Regions from separate parts of the Homo sapiens genome. Here regions 1 and 2 are each linked to region 3. Evidence: promoter capture Hi-C in 16 types of primary human blood cells and fetal thymus (Javierre and others, 2016). All regions are on one chromosome and are shown on one strand. Each heading gives the region's core, a stretch centred on a gene start or on the middle of the fragment in contact. The rest is flanking DNA. Distances are from core to core; before and after follow the strand shown. Region 1 overlaps JRKL-AS1 (JRKL antisense RNA 1). Region 2 overlaps JRKL-AS1 (JRKL antisense RNA 1). Region 3 holds the start of PIWIL4-AS1 (PIWIL4 antisense RNA 1).

Region 1 (4,502 bases), core at 1,046-3,545, 1.7 Mb before region 3:
AGAACTCAAAGGAAACAGGATATATAAAAATATAACAGCATTGTTCATAAAGGTAAAAGAAATCCCATCTAATTACAAAATTTGTCAGAATCAAGGACTTTTTAAAACTATAAATAAACATTTCAATTCTGAAATGTTGGCTTTCACAGCACAAATAGCTAAAACAATGTGGTTATACTCAAAATATTAAATATACTCAAGTTTTTAATTAAAGTTCTTACTGACAGGGATTTCAAAATGGTAAAAGGAAAAAAACCCTCTCAAATCTAAAAATGTATATATAAATGCATTTGCTAAGTGAAATATGTATGTCTCCCCTCCTATCCATTGTTTTAAAGGCAGGGATGAAAACAGAAGTATTAAACTCAGGCCTAGAGCTATGGGGAGAAGCCTGACTACTGTTGCTTAGAGATAGAAACTTCAAAGGCAAGGGTCCAGATTCCGTGATCATAATAAGATTTCCGACATTTCTTACAAGCTAATGAGGCACCTCCAGATCAAACCCACCAGCAACATGGTAGTATGTTAAAGAAGTTTAATTGCCAGAGAAAATTCAAACCTGGTCAAGAAGGTCCTGTGATTGCTCAGCTCCTAAAGCAATTCCTAGACTAATATAAACTTGCCAACAGACCTCATTCAGCTAAAGCAGTGAAGCCCTCATGTAATTAGGTACAACTCTTGACTACAAATGACAGTATACTGCTTAAGCAATAAGAGAATATTTTGAACTCATTCAGCTGAAAATTACATAAGAAACACTGAATTGTGACCCAGCTGGATGAAATGCACAAATGCTGGCATTGAAGCTCTCTCACTCTCTCCACGTAGCAGGCACAGGGTCTCCAGGGCCCCAAGACTCACAACCCACCAACCTTACAGCTGCAGTCATAAGAGAACATATTCTCCAAAAACCCCTGAAAAGGAGTTCTGAGGAGGAGTCTGACCCTCTGGTTTAGGTTCATGTGCCCATCCCTGTAGCTGGGAGAAGAAAGAGAAGAATGGGAGGTTTGGTAGGCAGAAGGGGTGTAGCTATGTCTCAAATATATGGAATGTGTTTCCTTTAGAGAGGCGAGATTTTGTGATCAGGAGAGGACTGTATGCTGGGAGACAAAATAAATAGAGGTCTTCAACACTTCAGAAGGTGAATCCTCATTGATGCCACTCTTGGGAATTGCCACTGGAAATCACAGACCAGGAAGATACTCCTGGCAAGCAGAACCTGAACAAAAATCAAGTCTATCCTAATACAGGAAATCAGACCACTACTAGGGCAAAGAGATCTTTGACATACCTATCTAGCAAATGTAATACAACCTGCAGGAGAGCAACTTCACTGTATTCATTCCCTTCTATAAAACAGAAAAAAAAATCATAGTTAAAAATGAGTGAGGGCAAATTCTGCAATATCATAGGTAAGTTTATAAGCAACTGGATTTATTGGGAAAACATACAAATCAAGGATTAAATTTAAGAGGCATATAGTCTGCATTGTCTTATTATCACAAAGAGAGGTCTAAAAATCAGTTCAGCATACTGATGGACACACCCCAGGTCCCTGCCCCCAGGAGAGGGATCCTGACTCTCCACTGTCATAACATGCAATCATGATAAATTTCAGATATGGGGTATAAATACAAAGGATGTAGACACCAAGTTGTCTGAGTATAAATGCCAACATGGCTAGGAGCCGTCTGAGAATGCTAGCTGCCATCACCTGATAATTTCTGAGTGGTGGGATGCTGCTGCTGCTGCCATTCCTGCTGCTGGAAAGGGGTTCCTGTTACAGTGGATAATTGGGTTCAGGCATAGCCCTTCCCTCTGGGAGAGGGCCAGCCTCTGCATCTAACTTGCTGAATAACCGTTTTCCTTCCAACATTCAATTTGGCATCTAGCCTTCAGTTGCAGGGTCAAGAAGAGCCACATTCAAACCTGACTATATGAAATAATTATCACCCAGAGATATTGGACTTGGAATAGAATAGAGAAACCAAATGCTATTTCTACGCCATCTCCATTTAGAGAGAGTGTAAGTAGGGGCTTTTGCTCTTATTCTTGGTGTTGAATGTGGGATCATTTGTAATGTTACTTGGGATGTTATTAGAACTGAGACGGAAATGCAGGTTTGCTGTAGGGGGGTCACAAACAGTGATATGCTGGGCAGCCCAGGCATAGCAAATTGTGGGCAGTGGCAGCTATTGGTTTTGGCTGTCCCACAGGGTTCCAGTGGGGATTTTCCCCATCCTCATCCTCTGGATAAGAGGACCAAGGGAAGGCCTAGTTATTCCTTTTTTCTGTAGATACAGTGATTGGGTGACTCAGAGGCTGATGTGTAGCCTAAGCAACTCCAGTTAGAATAATTCCCTGAAATTAACTGCAAGGTATATCTTGTCACATCCCTGCTCAGAACTTTATAGTGACTTCCCATCAGAGTCAAATCCAAACTCCTTACCATAGCCGATGAGAACCCGCATGATCTAGCCCCAGTTTCCACTGTCTTTTCTGCTCCTCATCACTTGCCACCTGGCACCTTGTCAACACACTCCGGCCATACTGTTTTTCTCTTAGTTCCTATAACATGCCAGGCTCTTTCCCACTTCAAGGATGTTTTCTTTGCCTCAAATTTTCTTCCCTTTGACTCTTTTTCTTTTTTGTAACTTTTTTAAAAATATAATTTCAAATTTAGAGAAAAGTTTAAAGAATAGTAAAATGAATTCCTGTATTCCTCTTGGATATTGTAATTGTGAATGTTAAATTGTGTGTGTAGATTCTTGCTCCTATTTTAATCCTCTTGAGATTGTTAATGTTTTTGTTTTAGCAAGCAAAAAACCTGGGTATATTCAGACTGTACTGTTTCTCACCTTTTGTGAGCCCTGATTTTAATCTTCATTTAGCTCGAAATCATCACTATGTTGGTCTACATTTGTCCTATGAATGTGTTATTTAGGGGTTAGGCTGAGACTTCTATAAGCAGTTCCAGTCTCAGTTCAGTTTTCAAAGCCTTAGCTATGCTGAATTGGGCCTGTTCTGTGCATGTATAGTTTATGGGTTAGACTGAGACTTTGTGCAGGTTTGCATGCAGTTAGGGAATCCTTTTCTCTGGATCCCTCCTCTCTGGGATTCTCCACACACCGCCATACTCCCAGACTCAGAAATGCTCCTTTTCCTTATACTCCGTTCAGAAAAAATATGGTTTCTATTAGAGTTTCAGCCATTCACTCATGTCAGCACTAAGAAGATATTATCCCATTGTTACCTGGTTTCTATTGTTTCTATTGAGAAGTTATCTGTTATTCCATTGGTTACATCTTTACAGGTAATATTCTTTTTTTTCCTGGCTGCTTTCAAGATTTTCCTTTAGCATTGCACTATAATATATTTAGGTGTGGGTATCTTTTTATTTATATTTCTTGGGATTCATTAAGCATCTTGAATTTGCAAACTGATGTCTTTAATCATTTCAGAAAATTCTCAGCATTATTTCTTCAAATTCTGCTGCATCCTCTCTCTGCTTTCTATCTGAGACTCCAATTAAACAAGGGTTAGACCATCTTACTCTATATGTCTCTTACTCTCCAGATTTTTTAATCCCTCTGTGGATTTTTTTTACAATTAAATAAAATTGGCAATGAATATTTTCTTCTGACATGTTCCAGTTCACCAATTTTCTCTTTGGTTATGCATAACTGAGCTAAATACCTTAGCAATTTTTGTTATGTTTTTCTTTTAGAAATAGAAACTCTAATTCTTTTTCAATCTGAAATTATGTGTTTTATCATTTTAAGTAACTTGCTAGAATTTTTAGATTTGGATTTTGATTTCTAAACCATTGTAAAATACCGATTTTACAAAGGATGTGTGATAATTCCACTATCTGGAGTACCTCTGGGTATGTTTCTCTTAACTTTTTGCACTTTATCTTGCTTACGTTGTCTTTCCTTCTCAGATATTTGATTATCTTTGATTGTATCCTGAACATGGCATTTGAAAAATTATTGTAAAAACAATCTGAGACCTCAGGTAATGTTATCTTCCTCTAATGTGGAATTTTGTCTGCTTCTGCCAAGTACCTGGAAGGTCTAGCAATCCAAGATTACCTTAATTCAAATTTTATGATTTGACATTTTCTGGACCACTTACATTACACCATACTCATCTATATCTGTGAATGGGCTGATTTAGTTATGGCTTCCTTAATACCCACGGTACATCCACTTGAGATTGCCACCCTGTGAAGATGTTCATTAGATCTCAAACTCTGACATATTCTCAACTCCAACTTTTGTTCCACTTACATCTCAAAAATATTTCAAAAGTGCTGGTTAACCTCTTTGTTGTCTCTTTCAAAGTGGCAAATGCCTGAAGAAAAACAATATAGCTTCAAATATTATGCTTGCTATTTCTTTTTTTTTTTTTTGAGACAGAGTCTTTCTCTGTTGCCCAAGCTGGAGTGCAGTGGTGTGATCTCAGTTCACTGCAACCTCCACCTCCCAGGTTGAAGTGAT
Region 2 (4,254 bases), core at 1,449-3,948, 1.7 Mb before region 3:
GAAAACTGGTGCAATTAGAAGGATTTTCACGAGATTAATTATTTTTTTCATCATTCTGCAAAGAAACTATAAGAAACCAATGTAGCAGTTGATTTTATGCTGTGAAACATCACAAAGATGTCGTTCCAAAGTGATTAATATCCAGAATTGCTTCTATAAAAGAAAAACATAAAAAGAGAAGCATAAGTGTTCTTAAATTTTTACTTTGCTTTATAAAAATTAAAAATGTATGATAGTAAAGTACATTTTATGTATGGTTGCAAAAGCAATCTGAATTTGCTAAGTCCCTCTAGTTTACATTTGATGCAGTCAAGGACTTTTCGTCACAATCAGAAGAAGCATTAGAAAGAAAAAAATCTGTCCAGAATTATGGGGTGTTTCTAATTATTCCTAAATAATTCACAAATGTTAGTAAATGCAGAGATTCCGTTTGAATGGGAGCCCTGCTGAGCTAAAGGCCTCAGAAAGATAACAGGGTAATGAGTGCCCTCTAGTGGTAAATCAAAGCTTTTGACTTGTAAACAGAACAGAGAGAGAATGTCGTTTTCCTCATTTTGCTGCTTAAGCTGTACTCTGCGGACGAAGGGGAAAATGTTGAATCTCAACATTCTAAGACTCCTTTTTCCTGTGCCTGAAACTTGTTTATTTGATACTTAAAAGTATTAAGCAATTCAATTCTCCTCACGTAAGAATAATAGATGTTATATGTCTATTACTTTCTTATCCTAAAGCTGTCACAAGTATATATTCAATTTTATTTTTAAAAAGAAATAAAATTTTTACCCCGGGGATGTAGCTTGAAGAATAATTTGCAATTTAGATTTTGTTTGTATTGATTACAGGTCAGCACAATCACCAAGAAGAAATATCTAAGTAGTTTCCAACTCCTGATATTTCCAAAATGATTACAGATTTTATTATTCAAGGTCACAGTCACCTCATTTTACCAGTGTCAATGAAAACCTGATGTTATCTGTTAATTAAGAATCTCCATGGCGGCCGGGCGCTGTGGCTCACGCCTGTAATCCCAGCACTTTGGGGGACCGAGGCAGGCAGATCACCTGAGGTCAGGAGTGCACGACCAGCCTGGCCAACATGGTGAAACCCCGTCTCTACTAAAAATACAAAAAATTAGCTGGGCGTGGTGGCGGGTGCCTGTAATCCCAGCTACTTGGGAGGTTGAGGCAGGAGAATTGTTTGAACCTGGTAGATGGAGGTTGCAGTGAGCCGAGATCGCGCCATTGCACTCTAGCCTGGGGCAACAAGAGAGAAACTCGGTCTCAAAAAAAAAAAAAAGAATCACCATGGCAATGAAAATGGATATCTTAAGTGCTGCTGCTGCCGCCGCTACCACTGATGCCACTGCAATTTATGTGTGAGTTCCAAGTGCCCTCTACTGGGCAAAATACAGTGGGTGAACAAGCTGTCTGGATTCTAGTCTGGATCAGCCCTCTCCCCTTGGAGTTCCTAATCAAGCTGAAATACCATTTTAAAAATGTAAAAGCTCAACCTATGTAAAGACCATAGGATCAGACTTTATGCTAAAATCGTGGAAGGAAAAAATCATTAAAGCTTTATTGTATATGGATGAATAGTTTGCAAATACCATGCTTTTCCTTTTTACTCAAATCTCATTTCAAATACGATTGCCTCCATGAGAAATTAGAAGCTATTAGAAAACAAGTCATGGACAATATTTTAAAACCTGACTTTTCTTCTCGGCACTTAGATAAATTTCTTTTTCTTTTTCTTTTTTTTTTCTTTTTTCTTTCTTTCTTTTTTTTTTTTTTTTTTAACTTAACAGGCCTGGAATCCAACTTGTGCAGGTTTTCCACCCCCTGGGGAGATATAGAAAGTCTGCTGAAGTTCTCGCTAAGCTCCCAAAAAGGCAATGCCTCCCCTGTGTAGTTGAAAACGTTAACATTTGCAATTATCAGCTCAAGTTTTAGGATAGAGTAAAGTGATCTAGTCTTGGAGAGAAAGGGTAAGAGGGCTACTTTTTGGCTTCCAGGAGTTAGACAGTACTCTGGTAATGGCAGGAGCTATTATTAATCCTCTTGGTCAAACTTCCTTCTGTATGCCTGGGATCACGCCCTTATGAACCCCAGTCCACTTTGTTGGGTTTTTTTTCCCTCCTCCCATGATCTCTCTAAGCTATTAAAGCCCTAAATTCATTCGTTGGAGTTCTGGGGGGAAAAACGGTCCTTTTTTGTAAAATGAAGGAGAAAGACAATCTATAGTCCCTGAATTCAAGAGCAAAGCATCTTTTGTCTACAAACCCTTTTCTTCCGAGAATTGTATGTATTACCAAAGCATGAGATCATAGCCCAGCTCCTAGTAAGTCAAAAGAAATATATCTGCATAAATAGAAATTCAAATAAACTACTTCCAACAGGGTTTAAACTATTTGTTTAGCTTCTAAAATATTAACAAAATAATCTGAAATATGATGACTTCTGTACGTGTTGCCTTTCTGTAATAAAAGTGTTATGGGCTGAATCATGTTCCCTCAAAATTCATATGTTGAAGTCCTAATCCTCAGTACCTCAGAAGGTAATCCTATCTTTATAAAGGTCATAAAGTTGAAATAAGGTAATTAGGGTGGGACTTTATCCCATATGACAGGTATCCTTAAAAGAAAAGAAGATTTGGATACACACACACTCAGAGGGAGGAGCATGGGAAAACACACGAAGACAGCCACCTGCATGCCAAGAAAAGAGGTGTCAGAAGAAACTGACCGAGCTGATTACTTGATCTCAGACTTCTAGCTTCCAGCATTGCGAGAAAATACATTTCTGTCATTTAAACCACCTAATCTGTAGTACTTTATATGACATCTCCAGTAAACTAATACAAAAAGTGAGGTTGGCATTACTTCCATGGCTCTAAACTGTCAGGATAAATATGTCAGCATTTCTGTTAGCCTTTGCCTCAAGATTTTTGCCTCCAGGTGGATATCCAACTAATATAGCTCCAGGCATCATGTCTAAACTCAAGAAAGAAAGAGGGGAGAAAATACCCTTCTTTTTATCAAAAACTAATTATTTTTAAAGGATCCTTTCTGTTGCAAGTACCTGAAAACTCAAGACTCAAACTCAGAATTTATTAGCTCAAGAATTAGAAAATCCGGGGTTGCACCAACATTAGGCATGGCTAGACTCAGAGATCACATACATTATCTGGATTGAGATTCTCCATATCTTTTTATTTTTCTGTCTTTGTACTGCTTTACTTTTCTGCTCATGCTTATCACTAGAAATTCCAGGCTTTTTCCTCATGGCAACAAGATTCTGGCTGCTATAGCTTTAGCAACACAGTCTTTCAAGATCCAGTCTAGCAAAAATGAGTTCCTGTCTCCCAGAATCCCTACGTACAAACACACATATGATGCTTCTTTCTTGGGCACACCCTCATGGTGTAATTATGTAAAATGCCTCTTCATACTCTTTTATCTTAGCCTAAGCACTAGGAAGTCTGTATTTACGTAATAATGTTGATAATTATCAACATTGTAAAGAGTAAAGGGCTACTCTTTATTAAGCACTTTATTCCAAGCATGGTTCAGTATCTCCTTGAATCATCACACTATCTAATGTAACAAGAACAATTACCCCACTTCCAAAATATTACTGAATATTTTTTAAAACTTTTTAAGAAGTAACTAGTCATGAATAGGTCAAATAATTTGCCACATATCACTAAGATAGAAAATAGAGCCAGGAATTAAATATACTTTTGTCAGTGTCTAAAATCTTCAAACTCTTAACCACGATCTGAATCCACTTGATTCCATATTGTTTTTCAGAAAGGATGAAGCTTCTAGCTCTTTGTCTCCATTTCAAGAACTTCCCCTGCAATCACTTCTACCCAGTCAACCAATTCCCACTTACTCGGACTATGCCTATTATCAATTCTTCAATCATGAAAGGTTAATTTTTAACAAATAAATGCTCCCTTCTTCCCCAACCACTCTAATTTTAGGAAAGAAAGATTTCCGCTTATCCTAGTAATGAGAAGCATTTGAATTCTACATAGTCACTCAAACCCCTGCCCCTTTACAAGCTAACCCATCTTTTTAAAATTTCTCTGACTTTTTTATTATGCAGTTTTACTCTCTTTGAAGCATATTTAGAAGTCAGTCCTTGAAAAACACTGGCATGCAAAACAATTGAAAATAAATAGACAGCAATTATGCCAATAGATAAGGATAAAAATGAGGGTCCCATTTTACATTGCCTTCTTTTCAGCAAA
Region 3 (4,393 bases), core at 570-3,069:
TACAATTCCACTGATAGAGATGTGATTGCCTCGCAACTTGTCAGAAACACATCCTCTGAATAAAACATGGTACTCCTCCCAGCCACAGAATGCCAACCTTGATCCAGATCTATTTTGGGCGCTTGGCTCCTAGAAATGAATGAAAGTCGTTGTTGAGGTGGAATTTTGCTTCAGGTCCTGTGGGACTTGATGAGGACATTCTTCCCAGCACAAGAAGCTGACCAGGGACAGGGTGCCACAGCTGAGTGTGTTACTGAGGATAAACATATTTAAACCGCTGTTTGTGGACAGTTCCCCTCCTCCTTTACTGTCAACATATATCATAAAATAAATCCTTTCATTTCATCTTAGGAAGGCAAGATATTCAGGCTAGTGATGAAAGAACAGTAAGGAGAGACTTGATAGCCCAGACCAGTAGCAGCTAAACTAACCTTGAAAGCAGAAGAAAAAAAAAAGAGAGCCACTAAGCCACCGAGTGAGAATGGGTGGCAGGAAGAGTTAGAGAGATCCTGCCCATTCGCATTTCCTTCTCTTCACTCTCTCTTCAGCCTGTCTCTTGACAAGAGTGTCCCGGTTCACCCATCGCAAATCTCCACTTACCATGACAGGCATGAGGATGGAATGTCCTATCTCGAGACACCTACAGGCTAACTGAGGAATAGAAATCAGGGAGGGAAGCAGCTCCTAGGTCTTACAGTTTAATGATTACACCGCCGTTTTCAGCCCCTGACTTCATTAAATTCAGGGTAAGGACGACCCACACGACGTCCTTCTCGTGCCAGGTACTTGGCAAGTCAGAACCAGTCGCCGCTGTGTCCTCCCGGCAAGATGAGCGCAGGTTTCAGAAGCCCCAGCTCTGGAAGTTTGCTGTGCCAGGCTCCTCGGAGCAGCACCACTGCCCCAGACGAACACGCACACACACGCACTCACACACACACACACGCACACGCACGCACACACACACACACGCACGGCTCATTGGACACTTGCCCTGCCACCCCCGAAAGCACAGCGCCGAGGAAAGGCCGGTTCCGGCCGCGAAGGCAGCAGGTGTCCCCTGACCCTTTCCCTCCGCCCTCCAACCCCAGCCCCATCCCTAGCTGAGTTCCTATGGACGCCCCCCAAACTCGCAGTTCTCGGGCAGAATTGCGACCAAGAAATAAAAGACAAAATGAGCAGACTTACCTAACTCGTCTGGGCTGTAGGATGCGGGCGAGGCTTCCACAAACTCACTGTCTGGGGGAGAAGAAAAGCAGAAAACAACTCGAATCGCTACCATTCAGGACGAACCCGCACAAGCACCAGCTCAAGCGCAGGTCCCCGGGAAAAGCGCGGGCTTCTCTCTCCCAGCGCTCAGAATCCCTGAGCCGGAGGCCCCGCGGGATTCAGACCGCCAGATCCCCAGGGAGTGACAAATCGCCGCAGAAACTTGGGGGACAACTCGGCCCTGGCACCGCGCGGCTTCCAGGCGCGGTCAGGCGCGCGCCAACTTTCCCCGCGTGCCACCCCGCGGCTCCCCCGGCCGGGCGCTGGGCCGCGGCCGCATCCTCTGCCCTCAGCCCGCGGGGCGCATTGCTCTGTCTGCCGGGCCTGGCGCCGACGCCCCAGCGCCGAGGAGCCGCGAAGTTTTCCCGCGGTCCCGGGGGCCCGAGGGCGCGCGGCGGCGGCGGCGAGCACCCCTCGCCCACCCAGGCGCCCCGCGCATCCCCGCTCGTTGCTAGGCGACCGTGGCCGTCACGCTCCGCAGAGGCGCGCGCGGCCTCCCAACTCCCGGCTGGCGGAATCCTCCCTAGTCCCCGCCCCGTTTGCCCATTTTCCAAAAAATCAGAGCATAACCCGTTCTAACCCGATTCCCTGCTCTGTTATGTTATGTCTGCCCTCCTCTGATGCTTGGGAAATCGTTTGTTCTGTGGGCTTCTCCTGAGGAGATGGACGATTTTCAGAGCTTGCAGAAAGGTAGGAGGAGACCCAAATGCCCCCCAATCCCCTCCTTTTGGAACCAGAATTCCAACTCCAGTCCAACATTATTTCCTACTCTTCAAGAGATCACCTGGCTCAAGTGGGCAAAGTAATATGAGCTGCATTGCACAGGTTGGGAAACCGAGGCTGAGAAGTTGTTAATTTATGCGTGACATCATTATGGTAGGGGTATGTGAGGGAGAAGTGGGGGAGGAGAGAAGAGCAGTGCTCCTTCTACTCTATAAAAGATTGACTGCTTTCAAATACAGAATGTAGAAGCAATGGTTATGCTCTGAGAACTGTAAATTCTAAAATAATTAATGTAACACTGTGAGAACCTCCCCCTCTGAGTCAGTAGCCTGATAACTTGGACAGATGTGTTATGTATCTCCCCCCAGCCCCCAGGACTGACTGTGACTGCTCTGCATTAAGGGGGCGAGGGTGCTGGACTTGGGGTGTGCTCCAGAGAGAGCCCCGCAGCTGATGGCCCATAACAGGGTCAGTGGGAAGGAAGGAACAAGTATGGAAATGGTTGTCCTTTCTCCATCCTTGGAGGACTATTGGAGGGTCAACAGTCTGGGCAGCCTCCTGGGGGCCTTCTATTGTCTCAAAGTGATCAGAGCACCAGCTGCAGCAGCCTAAGGGCCCCGATCTGAGCCAATGTGCTCTCATCCTGTAAACACTCAGCCATCTCTGGCTTTTCCACTGTCAGTTTTTGGTTTACAAATCACCATGAAGGACAGAAAGCCCCTTCGGCCAGCATTGCTTAGGGAGCCCAGGGAAGCAGGGGTGGGGCTGTCCTCCCCAAGCAAGGCAGCATTCTTGAGCTGCTGAGCCTATCTCTCCAACCTCTTCTTTTTCCTGCTTCTTATAATCTGAGCTCCCAAATCCAGGAATTAAATATGTTTGGGTGAGGGTTTGCACTCATCACTCCATCCCCTCCCAACTCCTAGAATCCTCCCATTTGTCCTCTGGAACTCATGGTTCATCGCTAGCAAAATCTATATATCCTCAGCCTCCTCTCTGAATGTTTCTTTCAGTGTTGTGCTCTGACCCATACCTGGCTTTCCTTGAAAATAACAGGCTGCATTACTTGCCTCCTCTACTTATTTCAGCCATCTATGGATCCTCTGGTTGTTCTACCTCATTTCTTGAAGATAATGGCATCTGATTCACTGTCACTTTTCCCAGTATCATTCCTGTGATTATTCTTATTTTTCTCCATCTACATAGTCACACTCTGATCTCTCAACTCTTCTGCATCTTATCCCTTTCTTGACCTGCTCCAACCACACCAGCCCCCTGCTGTCATAGCGACACCATGCATAATATCAAGGTGAAGTAATCCACTCTCCTACCTTTCCAGCTTATCCCCTCTGTTATTTTAATCCAATGTGTCCTTGACCCCACCAGCATCTATAATTTACTTATCCATGACCTTTTCTCTGCCCCTCACTCTCCTCATGACCCTCCTTCCTTCCTTATGGACTTTAGTTTCCAGTTTCATTATTATTTCTCTCTTACTTACACCTTCAAATCCATGTTCTGCTCTCTTTCCATGCTATTTACCTGGTGAAAACACAACCCTAGTAAAATATAACTCTCCACCTTCTTTCCATCTACACCCAGCTAAACATGATTGAAGAAGCACAAAATTGGCTGGGCATGGTGGCTCACATCTATATTTCCAGCACTCTGGGAGGCTGAGGTGGGTGGATCACCTGAGGTCCTGAATTTGAGACCAGCCTGGCCAACATGGTGAAAACCCATCTCTAGTAAAAATACAAAAATTAGCCAAGTGTGGTGGCACATGTCTGTAATCCCAGCTACTCAGGAGGCTGAGGCAGGAGAATCGCTTGATACCAGGAGGTGGAGGTTGCAGTGAGCAGAGATCACGCCATTGCAGTCCAGCCTGGGTGACAGAGCAAGACTCCGTCTCAAAAAAAAAAAAAAAAGCACAAAATTATGCTCTCTGGTCTTATTTTCGATTCATGTCCACTAAAATCAAATGGAGCTAGTGCAGCCCAGCAATCACTCTGCATTTGCCTGTTTATTTACTCTCCCGCTCTCTTGTTGCTATGGATGAATCATCTAAGGCCATTATGGCCTCCTGTATGGATCAGATCCCATTTATGTGGCTTTTCCCTCTTCCCACCTGGATTAATATTTTCTTCTGTCCTTGATCACTCCTGTCAGTATACAGACATACTACTATGATCCTGTCTTTTTAAAAATCCTTTCTTGACTCTATGTATCTCCAGCCATTACTCCAATTCTCATCTCCCCTTTACAACAAAATTCATTAAAATAATTGTCTACACTGATAGCACCCATTCTCCATTTTGCTCTTACAAGCAGCCTAAATAGGTTTCTACCTCACTCTGCCAGAGTAGCTCTTGTCAAGGTCAAGAATGGCTTTGCCATTGCCAATTCC

Evidence for each region. Contacts are between HindIII fragments. The CHiCAGO score rates a contact against its expected background, and 5 or more counts as called.
Region 1: a fragment that was not itself captured here is called in contact with the fragment with the promoter of PIWIL4-AS1 in region 3 in 1 of 17 cell types (naive CD4 T cells); the score reaches 5.6 in naive CD4 T cells.
Region 2: a fragment that was not itself captured here is called in contact with the fragment with the promoter of PIWIL4-AS1 in region 3 in 1 of 17 cell types (non-activated CD4 T cells); the score reaches 5.2 in non-activated CD4 T cells.

The regions. Positions count from the first base shown.
Region 1 is chr11:96,440,766-96,445,267 of GRCh38, reverse strand. It overlaps JRKL-AS1 (JRKL antisense RNA 1), which reads left to right. Exons shown (of 5, transcript NR_047481.2): 5 at 1,893-1,987. Among named protein-coding and RNA genes, the nearest start is that of JRKL, 53 kb to the right of the region's middle. The HindIII fragment of the contact is 5,718 bases long and covers 1-4,502 here.
Region 2 is chr11:96,461,155-96,465,408 of GRCh38, reverse strand. The region is part of intron 1 of JRKL-AS1 (JRKL antisense RNA 1); the gene reads left to right. Among named protein-coding and RNA genes, the nearest start is that of JRKL-AS1, 44 kb to the left of the region's middle. The HindIII fragment of the contact is 2,247 bases long and covers 1,575-3,821 here.
Region 3 is chr11:94,737,781-94,742,173 of GRCh38, reverse strand. PIWIL4-AS1 (PIWIL4 antisense RNA 1) reads left to right here and starts at 1,819. Exons shown (of 5, transcript NR_135093.1): 1 at 1,819-1,956. It also overlaps a transcript of AMOTL1 not described here. The HindIII fragment of the contact is 14,674 bases long and covers 1-4,393 here.